4 separate regions of the Homo sapiens genome follow, and all the other regions are linked to region 3. Evidence: promoter capture Hi-C in 16 types of primary human blood cells and fetal thymus (Javierre and others, 2016). All regions are on one chromosome and are shown on one strand. Each heading gives the region's core, a stretch centred on a gene start or on the middle of the fragment in contact. The rest is flanking DNA. Distances are from core to core; before and after follow the strand shown.

What was found. Contacts are between HindIII fragments. The CHiCAGO score rates a contact against its expected background, and 5 or more counts as called.
Region 1: the fragment with the promoter of EVI5L here is called in contact with the fragment with the promoter of CAMSAP3 in region 3 in 1 of 17 cell types (monocytes); the score reaches 7.1 in monocytes.
Region 2: a fragment that was not itself captured here is called in contact with the fragment with the promoter of CAMSAP3 in region 3 in 2 of 17 cell types (M1 macrophages and M2 macrophages); the score reaches 6.0 in M1 macrophages.
Region 4: a contact is called between a fragment that was not itself captured here and the fragment with the promoter of CAMSAP3 in region 3, in 3 of 17 cell types (neutrophils, M1 macrophages and monocytes). The highest score is 5.9, in neutrophils.

The regions. Positions count from the first base shown.
Region 1 is chr19:7,828,405-7,831,861 of GRCh38, forward strand. It overlaps EVI5L (ecotropic viral integration site 5 like), which reads left to right and starts at 1,814. Exons shown (of 20, transcript NM_001159944.3): 1 at 1,814-1,977. RefSeq lists a silencer at 1,671-1,910. The HindIII fragment of the contact is 20,032 bases long and covers 1-3,457 here.
Region 2 is chr19:7,359,267-7,362,607 of GRCh38, forward strand. All of the region lies in intron 1 of ARHGEF18 (Rho/Rac guanine nucleotide exchange factor 18), which reads left to right. Among named protein-coding and RNA genes, the nearest start is that of ARHGEF18, 12 kb to the left of the region's middle. The HindIII fragment of the contact is 165 bases long and covers 1,592-1,756 here.
Region 3 is chr19:7,594,500-7,597,892 of GRCh38, forward strand. It overlaps CAMSAP3 (calmodulin regulated spectrin associated protein family member 3), which reads left to right and starts at 1,364. Exons shown (of 17, transcript NM_020902.2): 1 at 1,364-1,651. The coding sequence starts at 1,504. RefSeq lists a silencer at 1,064-1,503 and an enhancer at 2,343-2,948. The HindIII fragment of the contact is 11,146 bases long and covers 1-3,393 here.
Region 4 is chr19:7,806,806-7,810,424 of GRCh38, forward strand. The region is part of intron 1 of LOC124904628 (a long non-coding RNA gene); the gene reads left to right. Among named protein-coding and RNA genes, the nearest start is that of EVI5L, 22 kb to the right of the region's middle. The HindIII fragment of the contact is 5,208 bases long and covers 1-3,619 here.

The DNA.
Region 1 (3,457 bases), core at 564-3,063, 230 kb after region 3:
TCCCAAAGTGCTGGGATTACAGGCGTGAGCCACCGCGCCCGGACCCTGGGGAGGTTTATTAACAGTTCCAGAACGTTGGCAGATGCAAAATAGACAGGAAGAGGGAGGGAGAGGCAGAGAGAGCTGGACAGAGGCCGGGACCATACGTGGATGTCAGTCACTGCTTGCAAGGCCACACAGAGTCTCCTACTACAGAGAAGGTTGAGCTCTCAGACCTTAGGAAGTCCTGACGTGCCCCTCCCTGGGTCCAGCCTTCCCTTCCCCATTCTGAACTTAGGACATCTAGCTGGGCGAGGTGGCTCATGCCTGTAATCCCAGCACTTTGGGAGGCTGAAGTGGGAGAACCTGGCACCAGGAGTTTCCGACTAGCCTGAGCAACATACCAAGACCCCAGCCTCTACCAAAAAAATTAGCCGGGCATGGTGTGCACGCACCTGTAGTCCCAGCTACTGGGGAGGTTGAGGCGGGAGGATCATTGGAGTCCAAGAGTTCGAGGCTGCATTGAGCTATGTTCGCATCACTGCACTGCAAACTGGGACACAGAGCGAGACCCTGTCTCTGAAAAATAAATAAATAAAAACACACTTATGACGTCACCCTCTCTGCTATGACAAGGTCCTTCCCTGCCCCACCCCCTCCAGGGCCCATCCCTACATCTTGGGGAGGAAATAAGTCCATTTTGGTCAGTCTTGCCCGCTGTCAGTAACTGTCCCTACGAATTCCTCTCTAGCTTGAAGGATTCTCCACCTCTCCCTTCTCTGTTAAAAGAGTCACGGGCCCATTTTCATTCATTCATTCATCAAATGTTTATAAGCAGTTTCCATGCTGGGGACCTGGAAGAGACCCGACCTAGGCCCTGCATCCCGACTCCCCGAGGATCTATCAGCCTGGGAGGATGGGGAATGGGAGGGCCTATCCCTCCCCACGATCACGGCGCGAACCGAGCTTTGATGGAGAAACACGCGGCTCTGTGAGCTTTAGAGAACACATTTAACCTGGCCTGGAGTAAGACAGGGGACGGGCCTGAATCTTTTATGGGACCCGCCCCCAATATCAACCGCCCCGTCCCCAGCACAGAACTGGGCTCCTAGACGACACGGTGCCATCACGTCCCCAGTGAGTCTTCAGGATTTCTGGCCACGCCCCTTCTCAGACCCAACCCCCGAGCCCCTCCCTTGCTTGACCCCGCCCCATCTCTGGCCTAGGCCACGCCCTCCTCTTAGCCCCACCCCCATTTCATTCAACCCAGGCCTCAAGCCCCACCGCCCAGGACGCCAATGCTCCCACCAATCTCACATACCCATTGGTCAGAGAGTGTCACTTTCCCGCCCTCCTTCAGTAGCATTGGTTCCCTAGGTGTCAATCTTCTTTATGGCGCCCCCAGCAGTTGCCAGGGCCCAGGTTTGAGGGGCAGATAATAATGGACGTCTCGGGGCGTCTCGTTATTGGGCAGAAAGCCCGGCTCTGGGCGGGGCTTAGTGCCAAACGCTTGGCCGCGTCTGCCTGGTGTTCCTCAGGGCCGCAGCCTTTCCTCACGGACACACCCCCACTTTCCTTGCTATTGGTCTTATCAGGTGTTGATCAATAGGATTCCTCATTCCGATACGCAAAACTACCTGTCCTTCACCGCTTCCCTCATTTCAATTCGCTCTCTCCTCAGAGGCGGCAACCTTCTGAACGTAGCCAGGGCCCGCCTCACGGAATGGCCACGGAATGGTCAGACACCCCGTCACTCCTGGCTGGTGGGCGGGGCCAGGGCGCCTGGGGGCGGCGAATTGGCGGATGGGGCCTCGGGGGCGGGGCAGCGGCTCCTGTCAGCGGGTGAAATGGCAGCGGCGGAGCCGGCGGCGGCCGCGGTCCCGGGGGGCGGCTGAGGGGGCCGGGCCGGGGCTGCGGGGCGAACGGCGCGGCTAGGATCCGGCGGCTCAGCCCGGGGCGGCGAGGCTCGGCACGGAGATGGCGGCGCGCTCGGCGCAGGTAGGGCGGCGCGGGCCGGGCCTCCCGGGCGCCTGCTCAGGCCGGCGGCTCCGTGATGCGGCCCGCGGGGAACCGGCAGGACCGCAACTCGGGCCGTCGTGCCCCGGAACCCGCGCTGGGAGCCTCGGCATCCCCAGCCCGGGACCTTCGGAGGACCCTGGCCCCTGCCCACCCTCGTTGCCGATCCCTCCGGACCCCTCCCCAGGAGCTCCTGCAGGATCCCCCTCCCCCACTCCGTCCCCTCCCCATGAGGACCCCGCAGGCCCAGGACCCCCGTCCACCCTTTGCAGTGACCCTCAGGACTCCTCTCCGGGAACCCCCTCAGGGCTCCCCATCCCCCCACTCCGCCGATCAGCCCCTCAGAAGCGCCCCCCAAGCCCAAGAACCCCCGTCCACCTTCTGCCCTGATCTCTCAGGACCCCTCCCTTCTGGACAACACTTGCCACCCCCTCCCCGCACCCCCTCACTTCACGTCCTCCTATCTTGGGCCCAGAACTGCCCCCACCTCTCCCCAAGGAGACCAGCCTCAGGGCCTACCCGCCCCCCATGCTGACCCCACAGGACCCCTCTCTGGCCTCTGTAAGTCGGATTTCCTACCCCTGCCCACAGCCCTCAGCTCAGCCTGCTAGCCCATCTCCCACCCCAGCTGCCACATGCCCAAGGGCACCCCTAAACACCACTCCCCGGCGTCCACCCAGCACACTGTGGTAGCTCCACTGATCCTGCCCCATCTGGATCCTGGCTCCTGGATCCTGAAAAATCCACCCATGCTCAAGACCTCCCGTTGGATATTCTGAACCACCCCACTCCCCATCCAGAGCCACCCATCTTTCTGAAAACCCCAAACACACACACACACACACACACACACACACACACACACACACACACAGTCACTTAGATCCCCCAGCACACACAGAAAAACTTAAGAGCTCCAACATAGACCCCAGGCATATCTGCCCCTGCCCCCACCCACTCAACACTTCTGCACCCCTCCTCAGATCCCACCTGTCCAGGCCCTCCCAGAGTCCCCGACAGCTCCCCCAGCTCAAGCAGAGATTCCAGAGACCATGAGGTGCCTGCCGCACCCCAGGAAGCCAACTTGCCCCTCCACCAAACCAGCGCCCACACTGGAGCCTTGGAGGGTGACAGGGCCCCAGAATCCCCCAGCACCTACCCCTGTGGGAACCTGCCCCAGGCCTCTGCCAAGTTATCCATCCTTCCCTGCTGTGCCCTTTCAAAGGGAAGGACGCTCACTTTCTCTCCTACACTAGTGTCCCGAAGGAACCACTGCCCGCCCCCTGATTTATGCCACCCCCTGGCGGGAAGGGAGAGGATTCACAGCTCCTGGCTTCCGTCCTGAAGTCTGCCCCCAGCCTCCTGACCCCATCACGCCTACTGGCCTCAAATGCCAGAGCCAGCAGGGCGGTCCAGGTTGCTCCTCAGAGCTGGCCCCTGACAGCCCGAGAGTTCTTTCACC
Region 2 (3,341 bases), core at 424-2,923, 230 kb before region 3:
AGATGGACTACAGGGGAGAGACTGGTAGCTGAGGATCAGTGACAAATGTGATTGGCAATCGTTTGGGGCAATTGTGGTTGGTAATTGACAGAGCTCAGTCTATGACACTGGGATTAGGGCTTAGCTCATAATATTGGAATCAGGACACAGCCTATGACATCAGGATTGGAGCTCAGTCTATGATGCCAGATCAAGATTCAGTCTATGACACCAGGATTGGGGCTCAGTCTATGATACCAGGATAAGAGCTAAGACTATGACACCAGGATTAGGGCTTAGCCTATGACACTAGGATCAGGGATCAATATATGACACCAGGATAAAGGCTTAGTCTATGACACTAGGAGGGGGGTTCATTCTATGATACAAGAATGAATGCTCAACCAATGACAGCCAGATGAAGTTCAGTCTGTGATATCAGGATCAAGGCTCAGTATATGACACCAGGATCATGGCTCAGTCTGTGACACAAAGATTGGAGTTCAATCTGTAAAACTAGGATCAGAGTTGAGTCAGTCATTGGGAACTAGGATCACAGTTGAGTTCATCATCAGGTCAAGCTCAACCTGTTCCTCGGTCAGAAGCTTCCCTATAAAAACAAAACTCAGCCAGGCACAGTGGCTCATGCCTGTAATCCCAGCACTTTGGGAGGCCGAGGTGGGAGGATCATATGAGACCAGGAGTTCGAGACTAGCCTAGCCAACATGGTGAAACCCCATTTCAACTAAAAATGCAAAAATTAGCTGGACATGGTGGTACACATCGGTGGTCCCAGCTACTCAGAAGTCTGAGACAGGAGAATCGCTTGTACCCAGGAGGTGGAGACTGCAGTGAGCCAAGATGGAACCACTCCAGCCTGGGTGACAGAGCAAGACTCTCTTGAAACAAAACAACAACAACAACAACAACAACAAAACATGCACAATCACACAACCCTGGCATTTCTTTTCTTTTCTTTTTTCATTCTTTTCCTTTTTTTTTTTCTTTGAGACAGAGTCTCACTCTGTCACCCAGGCTGGAGTGCAATGGCACAATCTCAGTTCACTGCATCCTGCCCTTCCCTGGCTGAAGAGATTCCCATGTGTCAGCCTCCCTAGTAGCTGGAATTATAAGCACATGCCACCATGCCCAGCTAATGTTTGTATTTTCAGTAGAGACTAGGTTTCGCCATGTTGGTCAGGCTGGTCTCAAACTCCTCACCTCAAGTGATCCGCCTTCCTCGGCCTCCCAAAGTGCTGGGATTACATGTGTGAGCCACTGGGCCCGGCCAACCCTGGCCTTTCACCTTTGATCTTTGGATCCCAGACCTTCAGGGTTCACAGATACAGGGCATGAGGTCCTGCAGGCTACAGGAGGCCTCAGGCCTCCACAAGGACCCTGTCCAGTGAAGCAAGCCAACCCTGCAGGCTCTCCTCCAGCCCTAAGGGGACTTGGCTGAGGAATGGGACTGCCTTTCCCCTCCCAAGCTCCCACCAACCTCCAGGACCCTCCCCCACATCTGGCTTTCCTCCTCCTTCACAGCCTGCTTGTTTCGTTTCTGTGAGTCATAGATGCTGCTTCGGCTTCTGGGTGGGGAAGAGAACAGATGCAAAGCTTAACAACAGCAGCTGAACAGAGTCCCTCCAACCAGCCCGGGAGGGCAACCTGGAAAGCAGTGATGGTGGAAACCCTGGCATTGCTCGTTACTGTCCAGCCACTCATCTGTGAATACAGGTGGCATCAGGGGGCAAATTTACCTTGAAGCAATGGAAACTGAAGCTTCAGGCCCCATGTGTACCTGCCCCATCCAAAGCTCTGCAAGAGGCTCCAACAAAAAACTTTTTAGGAACAGCTTTATTGAGCTACCATATACTTCACCCATTTAAAGCATACAATTCAGTGGTTTTAGGCCAGGTGCAATGGCTCATGCCTGTAATCCCAGCACTTTGGGAGGCCAAGGCGGGGGGATTGCCTGAGCTCAGGAGTTCCGGACCAGCCTGGCCAACGTAGCAAGACCCCCGTCTCTACTAAAAATAAAAAAAATTAGCCAGGTGTGGTGGTGCATACGTGTAATCCCAGCTACTCAACAGGCTGAGGCAGGAGAATCACTCAAATCCCGGAGGTGGAGGTTGCAGTGAGCCAAGATGGCGCCACTGCACTCCAGCCTGGGCAACAGAGTGAGGCTCTATCTCAAAAAAGAGACTGCATAACAGCGGTTCCTCAAAAAGCTAAGCATAGATTAGCATGTACTCCAGCAATTCCCTTCCTAGGTAACGACCCAAGACAATGGAAAACACACATCCGTGCAATTGCGTACATCTGTATGCAATTGTTCATGGCAGCGTGATTTGAAATAACCAAATGGTGAAAACGACCCAAATGTCCATCAACAGATCAATGGATACACGAAATGTGGTATCTCCATGCAATTGAATATTATTCAGCCCTAAAACAAATAAAGCACTGGCCGGGCACCGTGGCTCACACCTGTAATCCCTACACTTTGGGAGGCTGAGGCATGCAGATCACCTGAGGTCAGGAGTTCTAGACTAGCCTGGCCAACATGGTGAAACCCCAACTCTATTAATCACACAAAATTAGCCAGGTGCAGTGGTGTGCACCTGTAATCCCAGCTACTCAGGAGGCTGAGGCAGGAGAATGGCTTGAACTCGGGAGGCGGAGGTTGTGGTGAGCTGAGATCACGCCACTGCACTCCAGCTTGGGGGCAACAGAGCAAGACTCTGTGGAAGAAGAAGAAGAAGAAGAAGAAGGAGAAGGAGAAGGAGAAGGAGAAGGAGAAGGAGAAGGAGAAGGAGAAGGAGAAGGAGAAGGAGAAGGAGAAGGAGAAGGAGAAGGAGAAGGAGAAGGAGAAGGAGAAGGAGAAGGAGAAGGAGAAGGAGAAGGAGAAGGAGGAGAAGAAGGAGAAGAAGGAGAAGAAGGAGAAGAAGGAGAAGAAGAAGGAGAAAAGAAGAGGAAGAAGAGGAAGAAGAAGACAAGAAGAGGAAGAGGAAGAAGAAAGGAAGAAGGAAGGAGAAGAAGAGGAGGAGGAAGAAGGAGAAGGAGGAAGAAGAAGGAAGAAGGTGGAGGAGGAGGAGGAAGAGGAGGAGGAGGAAAAACAATGTGGGCATTGGGTACTTGCATTTGGTCTACGGGACCATTAGCATCATTGATCAACTGAGGGCTTTTTCCTAGAGCAGGCATAACAAATTGATTTCATACATAAGCCAACTTGGATCACCTGGTGATGGCTGTTGGAACTGGTGTGTTGGGAAGAATCCTGAGGGGGCAAATGGCTAAGCAGGAAATTGACTCATGATTGACTAGCAATGTCTGCCATAGGCTTGGGATGGGGAAGAGGTGAC
Region 3 (3,393 bases), core at 114-2,613:
TATACACACTTTTTTTTTTTTTTTGAGACAGGGTCTCACTCTGTTGGCCAAGCTGGAGTGCAGTGGCACTATCTCAGCTTCTGCCTCCCTGGTTCAAGCGATTCTCCCGCCTCAGCCTCCCGAGTACTTGGGATTACAGGCATGCACCATTATGCCCGGCTAATTTTTAAAAATTTTATTTTTAGTAGAGACGGGGTTTTGCTATGTTGGCCAGGCTACTCTTGAACTCCTGGCCTCAAGTGATCTGCCCGCCTTGGCCTCCCAAAGTGCTGGGATTACACTCGTGGCCACCGCTCTCGGCCTGAAATACACACACTCTCAATGTCTCTCCATACTCCTGCATTGACAGAGGCATCAATAACAGCCTCATACAACACACCAGTACGTTCAGATGCACAGAGATAGACATACTCACAGCACTCCAAAAACACACACACAGCCGGGCACGGTGGCTGCCGCCTGTAATCCCAGCACTTTGGGAGGCTGAGGCGGGTGATCACCTGAGGTCAGGAGTTTGAGACTAGCCTGGCTAACATGGTGAAACCCCAACTCTACTAAAAATACAAAAATTAGCCGGGAGTGGTGGCGCAACCCCGTAATCCCAGCTACTCGGGAGGCTGAGGCAGGAGAATCGCTTGAGCCTGGGAGGCGGAGGTTGCAGTGAGTCGAGATCGCGCCACTGCACTCCAGCCTGGGAGACAGAGTGAGTGAGACCCTGTCTCAAAAACAAAAACAAAAACAAAAACAAAAAACAGACACACACTCATCACTTCCATCCATCCTCAGGATACAGACATCTATATAATACATATCCTTGTACACACAACAAATTAAACACACACTTACACGTGCCCAGATACATACCCCACACACACACACCCCTAGACACCCCCCAATACACTTGGTCACCACCCAAATGTATTCAGAGATACACAGATACGAAGACACTCATATTCTTGTGCCTTCACTAACATAATCAGAAACAGGTGCACCCAACCACTCTCTGCCTGAGGGCCGGCGTTTATTGCAAGCACTTGCAGGAGCTCCTACGCCTAAGGGTAGACACTGGGGCTGGCACACACAGAGGGTCCCTAATCCTTTCCAGTAAGCTAGGCGCGCGCGCACACACTCACACACGCGCGCGCGCACACATACACACTCAGTCCTCCGCAAGCTCCCTCCACCATCGCCGCAGTCCAGGCCGCCCCCCTCCGCCCCGCCCCTGCTGCTCCGTGCACACTGCAGTGAGGGGCCCGGGCGGGGCGCAGGGGCGCGCCAGGGTCCGGGTCCGGGTTCGGGGGCGGGGCGCACCTGGGCTCCTCCCCGGGGCGGGCCCGACGCAGCGTCGCCAGCGCAAGCGGCCGCACCTGGCTCAGCAGCGGCGGCGGCGGCGGCGGCGGCAGCGGCGGTAGCAGCAGCGGGCCCGGCTGGGGCGCGAGCGCGGCGCAGCCCAGCCCAGCCCAGTCCGAGCGCGGACCCGGCGCCCGCAGCCCCGGCGCCGCCATGGTGGAGGCGGCGCCCCCCGGGCCCGGGCCGCTGCGGAGGACCTTTCTAGTGCCCGAGATCAAGTCGCTGGACCAGTACGATTTCTCGCGGGCCAAGGCGGCGGCCAGCCTGGCGTGGGTGCTGCGGGCCGCGTTCGGGGGCGCAGGTACCGGGGCTCGGGGGACCGGGGTCGGGGGCGGCGGGCCGGGCGCGGCAGGTGCTGGGGGGGGGCGGGGCGCCGGGCCGGGAAGGCAGGGGGCCGTGGGAACAATAGCGCCGGCCGCCGGGGGTCCCCGGGCTCGGGCCCCTGCCGCGCCGGGGCCTCCGAGCTTCCTGCTCGGCCCGGGCGGTGGACTTTGCCCCGCCGGCTGCGGGAGCGCGGTGGGGGTGGGGCCCGCGGCCCAGCTCCGCGCGGGGGTCCCCGGCGTCCAAGCCTCCAGGTGAGCCGGGCGGGGTCTGCGGGCCGGGTGGGGTCTCCCCGTGCGGACCTCTCGTTCCCGCCTCCCGCACCCCCAAGGCCTTCCCTTGCACGCCTTCTTCTCTTTTACACACATCACGCCCCTGCGAGGATCTCCTCTCGGTCTCTTCCCCCGCCACACACCCTGGAGACCCAGACCCCGACCTCGCTGGGGGGTCTCGAGCGCTCCGGTCTCCACCACCGCACGACCCCCAGGCCCCAACACACACCCCGCGTCGGCCCTGGCCGCGCTGCGGGCGGCGACCGGGGAGCTCTGGGAACCCCCTTTCGCCTCCATAGCCCCCTCCAGCGCCTGGCAGCTGCGACTTATGGCCCCATTTTACTGGGGAGGTTGGCGAGCCCAGCTGAAGGGAAATGGGTAGTACAAGATCGCCTGGGGTGGGCCCCCCGCTCCTCCCGGCTGCGGGGCCTTCTCCCATTAGAGCAGATCCTTCACTCCCTCCCCCAGGCCCGCTTGCCTGAGAGCCCGAGCCACCCTAATGGGGAGGATGCCGTAATCCCGGGTCCCCGGGATTAGAGGCCCTGGAAACACTCAGTCTCGGCTTTGGGCAGCTTCACAACCCCAGGCCAGAGCTAGGAGTCAGGGCCTGGCCAGAGAAGACAGGGGTTAATTAAGGTCTGGGCTTTCCAGCGGGGAGCTGTGGGGGTACATCCTTTTCTCCCACTGGTTCTGCCCACTGGTGTTGGCACAGCCCATCCCCCCTCTCCCTGGCCTTCCCAGATCAACCTGTTCTGGGTGTGGGTCTCAGTGACAGCTGTCCGTCTCCTGGTTCCGCCCCAGCCTGTCCCTCTTTCTCCCAGACAGTCTCTGTCTGCGTCGTTCCATGCATGCATTTCCCACTCTGGGGTCTACCTCCCTGCAGATATTTGCTTGAGGAAGAAAGAGATTGGGCATTGGACAGCCAGGACAGCCCCAGCTCCTCACTTCCAAGGTTACCAGGCTGTAGAGAACTCAACGTGGAGTGTCAGAATTGAATGTGAAGTCCAGCTGCACCAGAATGCGAATTATCCCAATTATCTGAGCTTCTGTTTCCCCTTCTATAAAAGAAGGCGTTCATTCACAGACTTATCTGTTTTGCGAATGTTTGTGGGGCAGGGGCACTTGCTATGTGTAGGGCACTGCTCCAGTGATGGAGACCCCCCGTTACCTCTTTGCAAGGTTGCTGGGAGGCGTAAAAGCTGTAGTGACCACAGAATTCTTCGCGTGGCACGGGGCGCGTGATACATGCGAAACGGTTGCTCGCTGCTGGTGTGATTGGCGGTGGTATATTTTGATGAATAATATTAACGTTATCCATTATCCCCTGGCCAGGAATCAGAGTAGAAATTATCCCATTTTGAAGACAGCAAAGCAAACTTCTGATGAGGGGTGTTGGTGAGCTCCCAGTGCCCTGACTCACCCAGTTCTGTTCTTGTTGACCCAGCTCCCT
Region 4 (3,619 bases), core at 1,039-3,538, 210 kb after region 3:
CCAGGTCCTCTTAGTAGATAAATGGGAACACACACACACACACACACACACACACACACACACAAACTTATTTCTATATTTATCTTTATATTTTGAAAACCATGAATTCACCTCAGTACCTCCAATTCAATAGGGTTTATTCTTGTTTTTTTTTGTATCTTTTCTTTTTTTTTTTTCTTGAGACCGAGTCTCGCTTTGTCACCTGGGCTGGAGTGCAGTGGCGCAATCTTTGGCAGTCTCAGCTCACTGCAGCCTCAACCTGCTGGGCTTGAGGGATTCTCCTGCCTCAGGCTCCTGAGCAGCTGGGACCACAGGCTCACGGCACCACACCCAGCTAATTTTTTGTCTGTAAAGACAGGGTCTCACTATGTTTCCTGGGCTGGTCTGGAACTCCTGGACTCAAGCGATCCTCCCACCTTGGCCTCCCAACGTGCTGGGATTACAGTGGCCGGGTGCAGCGGCTCACGCCTGTAATCCCAGCACATTGGGAGGCCGAGGCAGGTGGATCACCCGAGGTCAGGAGTTCGAGACCAGCCTGGCCAACATGGCAAAATCCCATCTCTACTAAAAATACAAAAATTAGCCGGGCTTGGTGGCGGGAGCCCGTAATCCCAGCTACTTGGGAGCCTGAGGCAGCAGAATCGCTTGAACCTGGGAGGTGGAGTTTGCAGTGAGCCGAGATCTTGCCACTGCACCCAGCCTGGGTGACAGAGCAAGACTCTGTCTCAAAACAAAACAAACAGAAAAACAAAGTGCTGGGATCACAGGCATAAGCCACCACACCTGGCCTCTGCATCTCATGAGCATTTATTTTGTGCTATGTGTTTTTTGGATATGACCTCAAAGAATCCGGTAACACAGCCGCCCTCATTCTCATTTTACCTATGAGCATAGTGGCTCAGAGATGAGTCACCTGCCCACAGCCCATCAGCTGATAAACACTGGAGTTGGGTTTGAAACTGTGAAAGCAATGAGGACCACATCATTTTCACTTCCCTTCGTGGCCCCAACTCAAACCAACCCAAAACCCAAGAAAGAAGATGTGGAGATTGTGTTGCCTTTCATAACTGGGAAGCGCGGGTGAGTGGAGGGGACCAGATTCAGGATCTGCTTTTCTTTCTTTCTTTTTTTTTTTTTTTTTTTTTGAGACGGAGTCTTGCTCTATCGCCCAGTGGAGTGCAGTAGCGCGATCTCGGCTCACTGCAACCTCCACCTCCCGGGTTCACACCATTCTCCTGCCTCAGCCTCCCGAGTAGCTGGGGCTACAGGTGCCTGCCACCACGCCCGGCTGATTTTAGCATCTGCCTTTCTTTATCTGTCTATGATCTGTTTGCTCCAGAATGTAACCTTCTAGACCAAAGGTTGGCAAACATTTGAAAAGGGCCAAATAGTAAATATTTTTGGGCCTCGAGGGCTCTCTGCTGCAACTCTGCTATTCTAGCACAAATGCGTCACATACAATACATAAATGCATGGGCAGAAAACAATTTGTTAGCCGGGCACAGTGGCTCACGTCTGTAATCCCAGCACTTTGGGAGGCCAAAACAGATTAGGGTTTTCCAAGGCTGCAGGAAGGCAGGAATGTGGAGTGACTGCTTAGTAAGTATGGGGGGCTGGGCATGGTGGCTCACGTCTGTAATCCCAGTACCTTGGGAGGCCAGGGGAGGAAGATTACTTGAGGCCAGGAGTCTGAGACCAGCCTAGGCAACATAGCAAGGCCCCATCTCTACAAAACATTTGAAAATTAGCTGACCACGGTGGCACATGCCCACGTCCCCAGCTACTCAGGAGGCAGAGGTGGGAAGATTGCTTGAGCCCAGGAGGCTGAGGCTGCACTCAACCATGATTGTGCCACTGCAGTCACCCTGGGTGACAGAAGAAGACCCTCTCTCAACAAAAACAAAAATAAATAAATAGGCCGGGCGCAGTGGCTCATGCCTGTAATCCCAGCACTTTGGGAGGCCGAGGCGGGTGGATCATGAGGTCAGGAGATCAAGACCTTCCTGGCTAACACGGTGAAACCCCGTCTCTACCAAAAATACAAAAAATTAGCCAGGCATGGTGGCAGGCACCTGTAGTCCCAGCTACTCAGGAGGCTGAGGCAGGAGAATGGCATGAACCCGGGAGGCGGAGCTTGCAGTGAGCCGAGATTGCACCACTGCCCTCCAGCCTGGGCGACAGAGTGAGACTCCGTCTCAAAATAAATAAATAAATAAATAAATAAATAAATAAATAAATAAATAACTATGGGGTGTCCTTTTGGGGAGATGAGAATGTTCTGGAACTAGGTAGTAGGGATGGTTGCACAACATTGTAAATGTACTAAATGTCACTGAATTGTATACTTTAAATGGTATGCTTTAAATGGTAAAGTTTATGTTATGTGTATTTTACTACAATAGAGGAAATGAAGGGAATCCTTCAGGATGAAATGAAAGAACACTAGACAGTAACTCAAATCCATATGAAAGGCCAGGCGTGATGACTCTTGCCTGTAATCCCAGCACTTTGAGAGGCCAAGGCCCACCTGAGGTCAGGAGCTTGAGACCAGCCTGGCTAAACATGATGAAACCCCGTCTCTACCAAAAAATACAAAATTAGCTGGGTGTGGTGTCGTGTGCCTGTAGTCCCAGCTACTTGGGAGGCTGAGGTAGGAGAATCACTTGAACCCCGTTGACGTGAGCTGAGATCACACCACTGCCCTCCAGTCTGGGCGACAAAGTGAGACCCTGTCTCAAAAAAAAAAAAAGTCCACATGAAGAAATAAAGAACCCCTTCCCACCACTGGCATTTTCCGCAACTGCCTCCCATATAAATTCCTCTTGTCCTCAAATTTGGGTCTGCTTAGTGTACTGATTAAGCATGGACTTGTGTCAACTTGCCTAGGTTCGAATCCCAGCCCTACCACTTACAAGCTGTATGACCATGGTCAATTGTTAACCTCTCTGTGTCTCAATTTTCTCCTCTGTAAAGCAGGATAATAACTGTGCTTTTCTTGTAGTGTTATTGTGAAGACTGTTAGTGTCTCCCTCACCCACCCAGTCAAAAAACACCAGAATCACACATGTGGTTGAACAAATGTCTTTGCCTCCCCTCCCCTCCCCTCCCATCCTCTCCCCTCCCCTCTCTTTTCCTTTTTCTTTGAGACGGAGTCTCGCTCTGTTGCCCAGGCTGGAGTGCAGTGGTGCAATCCGGCTCACTGCAACCTCCACCTGCCAGGTTCAAGCAATTCTCCTGCCTCAGCCTCCTGAGTAGCTGGGACTACAGATGCGTGCCACCATGCCCGGCTAGTTTTTGTATTTTTAGTAAAAACAGCGTTTCACCATGTTGGCCAGGCTGGTCTTGAACTCCTGACCTCAAGTGATATGCCTGCCTCGGCCTCCCAAAGTGCTGGAATTACAGGCATGAGCCACCATGCCCAGCCAGTTGAAAAAATTTCAATGTATTACTTGTCACAGCGAAGGAGAATACACACCACGGGTAGCTGTTACTGAAACACCAGTTCAGTCGGCTGCTTGCCACACAGAAAGCCAATCACTGAGACACTAGTATTGCCCATGAAGAAGGCTTTAATTAGGTGCCAACCAAGGAGATGGGAGATCAGTCTCAGATCTATCTC